Linked DNA regions of Homo sapiens: region 2 is linked to region 1. Evidence: promoter capture Hi-C in human tissues and cell types (Jung and others, 2019). All regions are on one chromosome and are shown on one strand. Each heading gives the region's core, a stretch centred on a gene start or on the middle of the fragment in contact. The rest is flanking DNA. Distances are from core to core; before and after follow the strand shown.

Evidence for each region. The method cuts DNA at HindIII sites, captures the fragments that hold promoters and counts their contacts. A contact is called where the count stands out against the background at its distance.
Region 2: a fragment that was not itself captured here is called in contact with the fragment with the promoter of CDC42BPG in region 1 in 1 of the 25 tissues and cell types used here (spleen).

Annotation. Positions count from the first base shown.
Region 1 is chr11:64,841,193-64,848,143 of GRCh38, forward strand. It overlaps CDC42BPG (CDC42 binding protein kinase gamma), which reads right to left and starts at 3,461. Exons shown (of 37, transcript NM_017525.3): 1 at 3,218-3,461; 2 at 621-712; 3 at 458-541. The coding sequence starts at 3,377. RefSeq lists enhancers at 499-1,311, 1,805-2,099, 2,124-2,936, 6,347-6,416 and silencers at 3,151-3,200, 3,231-3,280, 3,291-3,640, 5,957-6,046. The HindIII fragment of the contact is 4,484 bases long and covers 2,828-6,951 here.
Region 2 is chr11:65,488,394-65,494,564 of GRCh38, forward strand. No RefSeq gene overlaps it. Among named protein-coding and RNA genes, the nearest start is that of LINC02736, 3.4 kb to the left of the region's middle. RefSeq lists enhancers at 3,445-3,739, 4,576-5,086, 5,087-5,598, 5,090-5,219, 5,465-5,759 and 3 more, silencers at 3,269-3,770, 5,465-5,759 and a cis regulatory region at 5,498-5,740. The HindIII fragment of the contact is 5,007 bases long and covers 2,126-6,171 here.

The DNA of each region.
Region 1 (6,951 bases), core at 2,211-4,710:
CTGTAATCCCAGCACTTCGGGAGGCCAAGGCAGAAGGATCATCTGAGGTCAGGAGTTCGAGACCAGCCTGTCCAACATAGCAAAACCTCATCTCTACTAAAAATACAAAAATTAGCTGGGTGTGGTGGCAGGTGCCTGTAATCCCAGCTACTCGGGAGGCTGAGGCAGGAGAATTACTTGAACTGGGAGGCGGAGGTTGCAGTGAGCCAAGATAGCACCGTTGAACTCCAGCCTAGTTGACAGAGCAAGATTCCGTCTCAAAAAAAAAAAAAAAATTTAAAAAATTAAATAAAGGGTTTATTGTGAGAAAGATAACAAATCAGTGGCTGCTGAGGGTGGCACCCTTTGCCTGGTCTGCAGCCTTGCCCGCCCCCCCCGCGCCATAGGCCCTGGCAGCATACACCTCCCCCACACCCATTTGTAGGGTGCCCAAGGGCCCCCCAGACTCCACACTGACCTCAGCCCTCTTCAGCATCTCCCACTTGTGCAGCATTTTCATGGCAAAAATCTGCCCAGTGTCCCTCTGCCTCACCACGGTGACCTAAGGCCACAGGGAGGACCGGGGTGAGCCCAGCCCGGTGTGAACACCTCCCCCCACCTACCCCAGGCCCTTTGCTCACCTCCCCAAAGGCTCCTCGGCCGATCACCTTCAAGATCTCAAAGTCATCTCTCTGCAGACGCAGTTCTTTCACCTTTGATACGAAGGGGCTGGCTGAGGGGACACAGGGCGGGACTCAGAGTGCAGGGAGGGAGGGCTCCATTCCCCCTCTCACCTTGGGCAAGCCAGGAGCTGCCGCTCCTGTGAGCCCAGGCAGGGATGACCTCCCCAGGGACAGCCTCGGGCCAAGGGGTTGTGGCAGGAACTGGTGCTCCTTTGGCCATGATCAGGAAGTGCGGAAGGTCAGAGGCCGGGCTCAGCTGACCGCCTGGTCCCTGGACCTCCCTGGACCCCTGGCCCCAGACTCTAGGCAGCCTCCATCCCAGGGGCTGATGGGACTTGTAGTCCTGCCCAGTCTGCGGCCTGACTCTGCTTGGCCAGGTCACCCTGGGGACCATGGGGACACCATTCCTACCCCCACCTCACAGTTCTTGGCCCCCTCACAGGTTCAGGCCAGGGCCTGTCTTAGGAAACTGGACGGGTGACATTCCTTATCCCCAGAGAGGCTTCTCTCCCATTCAGGAGCTGTGGGCCTGGGTCCCGGGACCCTGTAGGCATAGAGGTGCCTGGTTGGGGGTGAGGCCTGCAGCCCCTAGGGCAGGGAGGACAGGCTCTATGCTTCCCACGTGGGGCCCCTCAGGCTGGAGGCATGGATGCCAGTCTGCCAAGGTGCTGAGACTCACAAACAGGACAAAGATGCCTTTCCCTGGTGCTAGCACTAGCCCCTGAAGGCGTGAGTGCTCAGGATGCCTCCAGGCCTGACCGGCTCTCTCACTCCCAGCCCTGCCTCCCTGTCTGGACGAAGCTTTTGTCTGGTCAAGAACGTCCTCTTTCCTCACATCCCAGATACCTCCAGGAAGGGCAACTCCAGCCACTCCCAGGCACTTTCCAGGCCTGGATTAGCCCCAGGTTTTGGGAAGGAATTGGGTCTTAGGGAGGCAGGAGTGATCAGTCAGGATGGGGGGCAGCTGTGGTCTGGCGCCCTGCCTCAGTTTCCCCCTGCCAGGAGGTAAACTCCCTGCCAGCTGGGCGGGTCTGTGGGTGGGACAGAGAGCTGTTCCACAGGTTTATCAGGCAGAAGCCCGCAGCGGGGGCGGGGTGGAAACCTCATTACAGAAATTCATTGTCTCTTTCCCAGGTCTGTGTGTGGAGCTGGGGAGGAGCAGCCCCGGGCCTCCCCGTGGGAGTTGAAGCCAGCACCATAGGGACCCACCCGCCAGAAGAGGGCCGAAGCCCAGGCCCACAGGCAGGAGGATCCAGGCCCCTGGACAGGCTGCCTAATCCTCTGGCCTCCCACAGGGCATGGGGGCTCCGGGCAGGAGCAGGGACAAGTAGAGACAAGCAGGAGAGGAATGAGTCACAGCCCTTTGAGTTACCTTGGGAGATTGTCAACAGAGGGCCCCCATGCCGGGGTCCCAGGCAGAGGTGCTGGAGGCAGTCAGGGAGGAGCACACATGTGTGTGCAAACACACACACGTGTGTGGGTGTCATGGGGGGGGTGACAACAACACAGGCAGACAGGCATAGCACGGAGGCATACCAGGGAGACAGGCACAGAGGCAGGGGCCTCTGACTGCCTCGCCCTGGATGGAAGGGTTGGGGCTAGGGGACAACTCCCTGGCACATCTAGGTGGCAGCCTCCCCCTCTACCCCAGGCCTTGTGCCTTCCCAGAGCTCAGGAGTGCCAGGAACGCTAGTTGCCCACTGGGCAAACACCTGCCTCACCCCGCCCTGGCCAGGCCCCCGTGCCTTTTCCCCATGGCCCGGCAGGGTGTGACCAGGGAACCCTCCAGCTGGCGCCAGTGCCCACAGTGGGTTCAGGGTCACCCCGGGCCAGCCACTCCCAATGACTCAGATGAGTCTACCAGGAAAGGTACAGACCCATCTCCAGCTAGGCCCCCCTCCCCGGCCCCGGCGCCACAGCCCCCAAGGAGCTTGGCCAGCAGCCTGCACAGGCCAAGGGTTGGAGATCGGTTCCTGAGTCCAGGCTGCAGTGGTCTTGTACCCAGGGAGCTGGGGGTGTGTGTGTTGGTGGGGGGAAGGTCTGCAAGTGTGCGATACCTACAGATCTGTGTGTTTTGCAGTGCCAATGCGGTCGGGGTGGTCTGCAGCGCTCCCTGGGTCTCTCCATGAGTTGTGTGTCTCAATGCATCCGAGAGGAAGGAGAAACAGAGCCCGTGTATCAGTGGGTGACATGCATGAGGGTCTGTGTGTGTCCTGCGTCAGGTGTGGCCTGTAAGCAAGGAAATCTGTAAGGGACTCTAGGCGGTGCACTGGGTACATGCGTCTGCGGTCGATACCTGAGCACAAGTTGGTATGTGTGTGCATGTGTCGGGGTCTGTGAGAGGGAGAGAGCGTGTGTGAGAATTGGAGTGAGGGTGAGGTGTGCAGGCGAGTGTGCGGGCCGCGGGGGTCCGGTGGTACGCGTCAGGGCCACTGCAGGGAGTCTGCGAGGGAAGCCCGTGGGGGTGCGGGTCCCTGCGGGAAAGTCTGCGGGTGCGGGGGTCTCGGCGCGATATCCCTAGGCCCGCCCCCGCTCCGTGCCGCCCCGCCACTCACCCCAGCTCAGGAACTGCGCCACGCTGCGCTCCCGCCGTAGGGGGCCGCTGCTGAGCTCGTGGTGCAGCGCCAGCAGCAGATCTAGGAGGCCGTCGAGCCCCGGGCAGCCGCCGGCCTCGCCCCGCGCCAGCTGCTCCAGCGCGCGCAGCCGCCGCTCCATGGCTGCGGCCGGAGCCTCGCTGCTCGGCTACAGTCTGGCCGCCCGCATGCCCGCCTGTCGGGCCGTCCGTCCGCCCAACCGTCTGAGGCTCTGTCCGCGCGTCCTCCCCCGCCCCTCTCCCGCCCTCCCCGCTGTCACCTTCCTCCGCCGCCGCCAGCGCGCCCTCACCTGGGCGCCGCGCCCCGCCCCCCGACGGACGGGCAGGTGCGCGCCGGCCAATGGGAGCCGCGGCTAGAGGTGAAGGTGGGGGCGGAGGCGCGCGGGGGCGGGCCCAACTCCCGGCCAGGAAGTGCGGGGGCGGGCCGGGGAGAACAACTGACTTCTGCGCGGGGCGCGGTGGGGTTCTGCGGGGTCGGAAAGACTCCCCAGATCCCCGCGCGGCCCCAGACCCAGACTTACCTGGGCCCTCCCTGGGCCCTGACCCAGGAGGCGCGGAGCACTGCAACTTCTCTCGCCCCCTGGGTCGCAGCCGCCTTGCCCTTGGCTAAGAGAGAGGGGCTAGGGACGCCCGCGGCCCCGGAGCCGGATGGGAATTGTAGTTCGCTCTCTCCATGGTTTGCCCGCGCTTGGCACCCATCGCCCCCCCGCCCCCGCCCAAAAAAAAGTTTCTGAATCTTACTTTGATTGTATCATTAGAGTTGATGTGGGAGACAGGAAGTTGGGGTAGGGATGGTCACGCCCATTTGGCAGATGGACACACTGAGGCTTGGGAAGGAGGAAGGCGAATTGAGGGGCTGAGGACAAGGTGGCTCTTAAGTTAGACCCTGGGGTGGAGGTGGAGCTGGGCTGGTACCAACACCACAGGCGTTTTAAGCTTCAGTAGGAGCAGGGCCTGAGGTCTGACCTGGAACGTGAAGGGCAAGGAGAGGTCTGAGATAGGCTGGAGGAGGTTGGGGAGGGGAGGGGCTGGCTCTGTCCAGTGGTATTTCTGATTTCTGTCCAGCTGGGATGGACCAGGCACCATGAGGAGAGATCAAAGGGTGGGACATATTGGTGGCTTCAGACAACACTTTTTTTTTTTTTTTTTTGAGACAGGGTCTCTCTGTCACCCATGCTGGAGTGCAGTGATGCAATCATAACTCACTGCAGCCTTGACCTCTTAGGCTCCTGCCTCAGCCTCTTGAGTAGCTGGGATTACAGGCAGATGCCACCACACCCAGCTGATTTTTTATTTTACTTTTTGGAGTCAAGGGTTATTGTTATGTTGACCAGGCTGGTCTCGAACTCCTGGGCTCAGGTAATCCTCCCACCTTGGCCTCCCGGAGTTCTGGGATTACAGACATGGGCAACTACACCCGGCCTAGACAACACTTCTTTCTCTTTTTTGAGACAGGGTCTCACTCTGTCCCCTAGGCTGGAGTGCAGTGGTGCAATCGTAGCTCACCACAGCCTCAACCTCCTGGGTTCAAGTGATCCTCCCACCTCAGCCTCCCGAATAGCTGAGACTACAGGCTCACACCACTAGGCCAGGCTGATGTTTTGTTTTTTGAGATGGTGTCTCACGCTGTCACCCAGGCCAGAGTGCAGTGGCACGATCTCGGCTCACTGCAACCTCTGCCTCCCAGGTTCAAGAGAGTCTCCTGCCTCAGCCTCCCAAGTAGCTGGGATTATAGGCATGTGCCACCACACCCAGCTAATTTTTGTATTTTTAGTAGAGATAGGGTTTTGCCATGTTGGCCAGGCTGATCTCAAACTCCTGACTTCAGGTGATCCTTCTGCCTCGGCCTCCCAAAGTGCTGGGATTACATGCGTGAGTCACTGGGCCCAGCCATGTTTGTATTTTTTATAGAGATGGGGTTTCGCCATGTTGCCTAGGCTGATCTCAAACTCCTGGACTCAAGTGATCTGCCTGCCTCAGCCTCCCAAAGCGCTGGGATTACAGGCTGTAGCCACTGGCCAACACATTATTTCATTAAAAGACCTGTTTAGGGGTTTGCCTCTCCTCTCGTACTGGGACCTCGCTGAGATGGGGGCAGGATCAGGTTGAGGGAGGAGGTGTTCCATGAATGTTTGAAGCAAACAGGGTGTTTCTCCCCACGAAGGGTTTTTCATGTGATTATTTGTTTATTTATTTATTTATTTTAAAGAGACAGGGTTGCACTATATTGCCACGTTGGCCAAGCTGGTCTGACCTCAGGTGATCCGCCCACCTCGGCCTCCCAAAGTGCTGGGATTACAGGCATGAGCCACCATACCCAGCCTTTTTTTGAGACAGGGTCTTGCTCTGTCACCCAGGCTGGAGTGCAGTGATGCAATCTCAGCTCACTGCAGCCTCAACATACTGGGCTCAAGTGATCCTCCCACCTCAGCCTCCTGAGTAGCTGGGACCGCAAGCCTGCACCACCACGCCTGGTTAATTTTTAATTTTTTTTTTAGAGCTGGGGTCTCTCTACATTGCCCGGGGCTGGTCTCAGACTCGCCCTGCCTCCCATGTGATCTCCCCAGAGGCCCGCCCTGTAGCTACGCAGGGCCCATGGGCTGAGAAATGTTTGGGGAAACAGAGTCTGGGTGTATTACCTAAATCAACCAGAATGGGATGGGGAGCCAGGATTCAAACCAAACTCTGGGGATCCCCTTCATTGCCTCTGGTCTCCTGGAAGGGGGAGGGGGCAGGAGTTCAGATCCCTCTCACCTGAGAGATTCTGAGCCCTCCTTATAGGGGCGGGGCAGGGGTGGAGCCCACAGGAGGTAGGAAGGGGCTTGCTCACTGAGGCCACACGGGGGCGCCAGAGACCAGAGGAGGGACAGGCGCTCCAGCCAGCATTAGGGAACCGGAGATAGGGAAGGGCTCCTGGGTGGGAAGATGGGCCTCTCCTCCGCTGCCCCTCGTGGACACCCCTGGTGAGGCCTCTGGGCCCTGCCTCACTCCCTGTGTGACCTCAGGCAAGTCCCTTAACCTCTCTGGTAAGTTCTCAGAAAGGTTCATCCCCAGCCATCTGTCCATCCCCACACAGTATAGCTGAGTGGACACTGAGTCCCAGGGCTGAGGCCAGGGCTGCACGGGGCAGGGCTGGGACTGGCATTCGGCACCTCCCGCCTCTCACACGTGATTCTTTCTGGTCCTTTATTAGTTTTTGTCACATCTGTCTTGTAAGCCTCAATTTCCTTGTCTGTAAAAGGGGGTTGGGTCCGGGCATGGTGGCTCATGCCTGTAAGCCCAGCATTTTGGGAGGCCGAGGTGGGAGGATCACTTGAGCCCAGAAGTTCAAGATCAGCCTGGGTGACATAGTGAGACCTCATCTCTACAAACGAACTTAAAAATTAGCTGAGTGTGGTGGTGAGAGCCTGTAGTTCCAGCTACTCGGGAGGCCAAGGTGGGCGGATCACTTGAGCCCAGGAATTCAAGACCAGCCTGGTCAACATGGCAAAACCCTGTCTCTACTAAAAATACAAAAATTAGCCTGGAATGGTGACACACACCTGCAGTCCCAGCTACTCGGGAGGCTGAGAAAGGAGAATCACTTGAACCTGGGAGGCAGAGCTTGCAGTGAGCTGAGATTGTGCCACTGCACTCCAGCCTAGGTGACAGAATGAGACCATGTCTCCAAAATAAATAAATAAATAAAAATAAAGG
Region 2 (6,171 bases), core at 3,379-5,878, 650 kb after region 1:
GGAGGTAGCAGGACCTGCTGTCTCCAGGACCCCTAAGTTTCTAGGCCAGAGCTGACGGCTGGTGGGTGCAGTCAGCCAGGCTCCAGGGAAGGCTGCTCCAGGCAGGGCTGAGTCTTCACGGTTCAGCTTTTAGAACTGGCCAGGTTGGAATTCTGGCTGGGGGCAGACAGGGAGGGCAAACCACAAACACTTCTGCCTGATCTGGCTGGGGAATCCACAGAGACCACCAGCTGGGACTGGGGTGAGCCTCTCAGAGCCCCTAGCACCAGCCCAAGGCTGCATGGGCTGACTGTGTGGGCGGATGCTGCCTAAGTCATGTGCAGAGCCGTCCTGAGCTGAGGCAGAACTATAAGACATGAACTCTGTTTTCAAGACAGGTGACAATGACAAACAGCAATAAAAGCCACACACCATAGCTCAGGATAACAAGGGCTGAGATGCGTTTGGACAATGAGAAGAAAATAAAAATTAAAAAAAACAGCTGATTCACCAAATGAAGGGCACAGTCCCAGGCGTGCTGGTGACGTCACTGGGCAGGGAAGGCTGCAGGAATCTGCAGCATGGACTGACTGTTCAGGTTCAAGGGGTCTTGACCTGGCTCCTGAAGTTGGGGGGCTCCCACTGCCAGGAGAGTGGCCACGACTGTGGGGAGCAGTGGAGGGAGGTCAGTGCAAGTAGGGAAAGTAGGGATCTTGCTGCCACAAACAGTGGGGGTGGGGGTGGGGGGGGCAGGAACAGAGGAGGCTGGACTGCATGAGGTTTATGGCCTTGGCTCAGGGTGGGGCAGTAGGTGATAAAGAGCCCAGAGAGAGGAAAAGTGACCCTTTGTGACCTGGGCCCTGGTCTCTGTTGACATCTTGGGCCTCAGCTGCAGTCTTTGCTTGAGCAGAAGAGTCATGGAAATTTCCACCCAGATTCCTTTCCCAGCACTCAGTCCCCAGCTCCACATTCTTCTAGGCCCTGCTGGGCTGAGTTCCGCTTGTGGGGGCTGCAGGCTTGAAGAGGCCGAGGACAGCCTCCAGGTCACGGGGACAGCCACAGAAGGCCGGTGGAGTGGACGCATCAGAATTTCAGGCATGTGGGGCATTGAGCTGCCATGAAATACCAGAGCCATCCCCCGTGCCTGACAGGTCCCAGACGCCCCAGGGTCCCTGCTCCTGGGAGGGCAAAGAGGAGGAGTAACAGCCTCCTCCGTCACAGCAGTACTCGAGTCACATCAGCTCATCACCAATGTGCCTCCCCCAGAGTAAGGGCAGCAGGGGCGGAAGAAGCCCAGGGGCACCTAAATATTGTGGGTTCAGCACTTCTGCTCTCCAGAAATGATCCAGGTCCACTGTTTTCTCAGGGGGAGTATTTTATATGTCTATCTCTAGAAGCTTCCAAGGGGAAAAAGTGACTTCAAGGGGAAAGAGGAGCTGGGAAGACCTTGGCAGCTCCTTCCCCTTGCCCGGCCTTCCTTTCCCTACTCTGGGCTCCAGGCTCCACCCCACCTCCTGTTAGGCCTTCCTGAACAGCAGCAGCAGCTGGGAATGCAAAATGACATCCCTATGTTGTCCCTGCCCTTTGTCCAGGGTGAGAGGGACCCTTCCTCGGTGGAGTTGACACAGACCTGCCTCTCTCTCATGTCTGTACTGGGAGTGAGCCTGAGGCCTCCCTGCCAACCGGACTGGAAACTCTGGAATCCCCTTTGTCCCCTTTGATCCTCAGAGGAGCGAGGGAGCCCTGTTAACAAACACATAGTCATCCGAGAAAATGTAGGCTGCCTTGGGACAGAGACTACTGATGGGGTGGTGATAAGTGGCGACTTTGGATACAGTGGCCAGAGGGGTCCTGTGCAAGGAGTGCCCTGTGGTCAGGGTGACGAGGAGTCTGCCTTCTGAAGAGCTGTAGAGGAGCATTCCCAGAAGACGAGCCAAAGACAGCAAAGACCAGGAATCTGGAAGGGCCGGGGCACTAAGAGACAGGAGGGAGGGGGCCCTCATTGCAGGCACAGGCAGCTTCAGGCCACTCTTTCACAGCTTTTCCTTTCTCTTGTCCCATGGCCACCCCCCCACTCCCAATCCAGGCCCCATGACCTCTGGCCTGGGCTATGGCACTGGGCCTCAGTGCCCTCCCCTCTGCTGCCTCTCCCAGCTCTGCCATCCTGCCCAGAGCAGCCAGACAATGCCTCCGGAAGCCAGGGCCTCTCCCAGCTCAGAAGCCATCCTTCTGCCCTAAGAGCCATGTCCATGGCCCTCTCCAGGTGTCCACGCCAGCCCAGACCTCACTGCAGTCTTCTCTTGCTTTCCTGCCAACAGCCACACCCAGCACCCACCTGGCCAGTCATTTCCTCCTCCCCGCACAAGCATTACCAATTTGGGGTGTGCAGGTGCAGGGCCTCTGTTTACCTATTCTGTCTGGGATATTCCCCACCCCCTGCCCCTCATAAAAGTCTATTAAATCCTACACATCCTTTTTGTTGTTGTTGTTGAGATGGAGGCTCACTGTCGCCCAGGCTGGAGGGCAGTGGCGCAATCTCGGCTCATGGCAACCTCCGCCTCCCGGGTTCAAGCGATTCTCCTGCCTGCCTCAGCCTCCCGAGTAGCTGGGATTACAGGCGCCTACCACCATGCCCGGCTAATTTTTGTATTTTAGTAGAGACGAGGTTTCACCATGTTGGTCAGGCTGGTCTCGAATTCCTGACCTCAAATGACCTGCCCACCTCGGCCTCCCAAAGTGCTGGGGTTACAGGCGTGAGCCACCACGCCCAGCCTGGCTTCTGGAATTTTCTAGCCAGAACACAGTCTCTCCTGGGCCCTGTTCCTGTTGTATCACTTCCTGTACTAATCTGTTCCCCTCATGGCTAGACCGAATGCAGCCTGACCCCTTGGATAAGCTTCCAGGAGAAAGCCCACAGGATGGGCAGCCAGGGCGTGAGTGTCCCTACAGCTAACTCAGGGAGATGTCCGGGCCCCAGAGGCCATCTGCCTGCATCTCTAAAAAGTGCTGTGGGAATGTAACTTTTCTGAGTCTTAGATTCTTCAATTGTAGCATGAGGGGCTACTTAGAATTATGGATTTTCAGGATTGGAAGAAAAATCTCAAGTTTTCTTGACCAGCTTCTTCGCAATGCAGGGATACTGCGGAACCCTAGGAAGGTCACCCAGCTTCCAGAGGATACCTGTGGGAATGGGAACTTGCTACCTAGAGGTTTATTCCACTCAAACACTGGGTGGCTCTGATCCACTATTACCAGTTCAGGAGAAGGCCCTGTCATTCTGCGGGCTTCTGTTTTAATCCGGCATTGTTGAGAAACACACCCCGACAAAGTGCCTGAAACCTTGTGGCCGCTACCCCCTTGTCCCAGGAGATGTGTGTCTGTGGGATGTGGGCCACACTTGCATGAGGAAGAATGAATATACGTGTGTGTGTGTGTGTGTGTGTGTGAGCATGCTCATGGAGGATGTTTAATCAGCTTCATGCTGGGTGTGCCAGGCCAATACAAACATCTGCCAGGGACCTGAAGCATGACTGAAAAGATCAGGGACACAAGAACGCGGCTGCGACTCCCTGAGAGCTTCATTGTTCCTTCAGGCCACTTGGGAAGGTTCACTCAGCAGGCGTCTCCCGCGGTGACTCATCATGGGGCAAGGACAGCAAGGGCTGAGCCGGGCTCACTACCCTGCACTGGGCAGGGGGCGGGTAGGAGGTAGAGGGGTGAATGCTCCATCAGAGCTGCATGGAAACCACAGGTGGCCTCTGGGTTTTCTCCCCTGTCTCTGTGGATGGCAGTTGGTTCAGAAGTTCTGAACAGACCTCCAGAGCAAAGCAGTTCCCAGTTTCCCACGCAGTACAGCTAGCTCAGTCCCATTCCACTCCATCCTGATGGGCATTCGAATTTACGTCAAGTCTAAATCCGTTCTGTTCCTGTGGAATGATCTGTTCCTGTGGAATGATCTGTTCCTGTGGGAGCTTTTCAGTATTCTGGTTGTGTGTGTGTGTGTGTGTGTGTGTGTTATAAATTCCAAAAAAGATACTATTCCAATGTATTCATTGAGTCATTACTCAGTAGACACACATGGAGCTTCTACTGTGTGCCAGGCTCTAGTGATCTGGCAAATGACAGCTCTTTGCCTCAGTTTCCTCATCCGTCTAAGGGGAAAGCAACACCACCTCCCCCACAGGGCTGTTGTGAGGCACAGCACTCAATACACGTTACAGAAAATAAAGATGCACATGGAGTGGATAGACGGTTCTACAGACGCAGCCCCCAGGAAGGCATGGGGGACAGCCCAGTTGTGCCCCTCGATGTCAATCTGTCCTCCTACAGCCCACAGTGCTACAGCTGGGCTGCCACAGCCAGGCCTTTCGGGAGGATCCACCAATAGGCTTCAGGGCCCAGGGCCAAGTACATTACGCAGCAAATAGACCAAGGAAGGAACTAGGAGCCTGGAACTCTCAGGCAGGGGGTGGGGAATTGCTTTCTTAAGACACTTTCTCCTAAGAAAGAACAACAACAACAAAAAAGACACTTTCTCCTTTATTCCCCTCCCCGAAAGAGGATTCTATCTAACAAGGAATGCTTGCTAGAAGTAGAGGTGGGTACATTTAGAAGATGTTTTCTTGTCTCAGGAAGAGAGAATCTGTTTCCCCTACCCTCCTGCCCTGGTGATTCAGGGCTGTGATGGAAGAGGCCCCAGCTGCCTCTTCCGCATATCATTTTGGGAAGGTCAATGACACAGCCACTTCTAGTTTCTGTAACTCATTCTTGCTGGAATTGCCCTCAGCTCTCTGTGAAGTGACAGGCCTGTCTGCTGGGTTTCAAGGGATAATTTTACATGTTCTACAGGGTAAATTATTAGCTGTCCAAAACCCCCTAGAAAACAATGCTCTGTCTTCCATATCATAGAGCTCTGAGCTGCATCATCTCTGTAGGTTTTTTCCTGCTGTGGGGGCGGTCACAGTAGGTGAGGGAGCCTAAGTTTGTGCAGCAGCTACGGAAGGTCACATTGTTCCAGAAATCGGCTCTGGGAAGGTGGGCAGCCAGGGGATGGGATTGGGAACTGCAAATTCCTAAAATCTTTAGAAAACAAGAAAGTTTGGGCTGGGTGTGGTGGTTCATGCCTGTAATCCCAGCACTTTTGGAGGCAGAGACAGGCGGATCACTTAAGGTCAGGAGTTTCAGACCAGCCTAGCCAACATGGTAAAACCCTGTCTCTACTAAAAATATGAAAACTAGCCGGGCATGGTGGCAGGCACTTGCAATCCCAGCTACTTGGGAGGCTGAAGCAGGAGAATCACCTGAACCCGGAAGGCAGAGGTTACAGTAAGCTGAGATCCCGTCACTGCACTCTAGCCTGGGTGACAAGAGCAAAAAACTGTCTCAAGGAAAAAAAAAAAAACAAAAACCAAGAAAGTTGTTTTCTTGGGACTGTCTTTGCCCTTCATTTCTGACCTGCATTTCTAGAGAGCTCTAGAAATGCAGAATTAAAGAAAAAATTACAGGATTAGATAAAATCAAAGGAGGCCTGGGAGGAATCCAGGTGCCATGAAGACTCAGCCACTGCGGCCTCTGGGCTCCAGGGCCGTAGATGACGGATCTCTCAGAAGCTTGTCTCTTGACTAAGCCTGACTGGACTTGCCAATCAGGGAAGGGGTGGAGTGGATTCTGGCATTCTCTGGAGGTTTCCGGCCTGGCCTGAGTCAGGAGGATTAAGGTAGGGCCTTGCTGACTGTATGCTTGGAGGCTGGATGCAAAATTTTTGCCCTTTTAGTCCTTTTCAGCACCCCGCCTTCTCGAAGGTACAGCCAGGAGGCCTAAGATCTTTCCTTTTTCTTTTTTTTTCAGACAGTCTTGCTCTGTTGCCAGGCTGGAGTGCAGTGGCACCATCTCAGCTCACTGCAACCTCTGCCTCTCGGGTTCAAGCGATTCTCTTGCCTCAGTCTCCCGAGTAGCTGGGACTACAGGTGCCCTCCACCACACCCCAGCTAATTTTTGTATTTTTAGTAGAGATGGGGTTTCACCATGTTGGCCAGGGTGGTCTCGATCTCTTGACCTGGTGATCCGCCTGCCTCAGCCTCCCAAAGTGTTGGGATTACAGGCATGAGCCACCACGCCCGGCTCCAGCCTAAAGTCTTTCATGTCCTCTCCCCAACCCTTTGTTTACTGTATTTTATAGAATCAGCATCATGG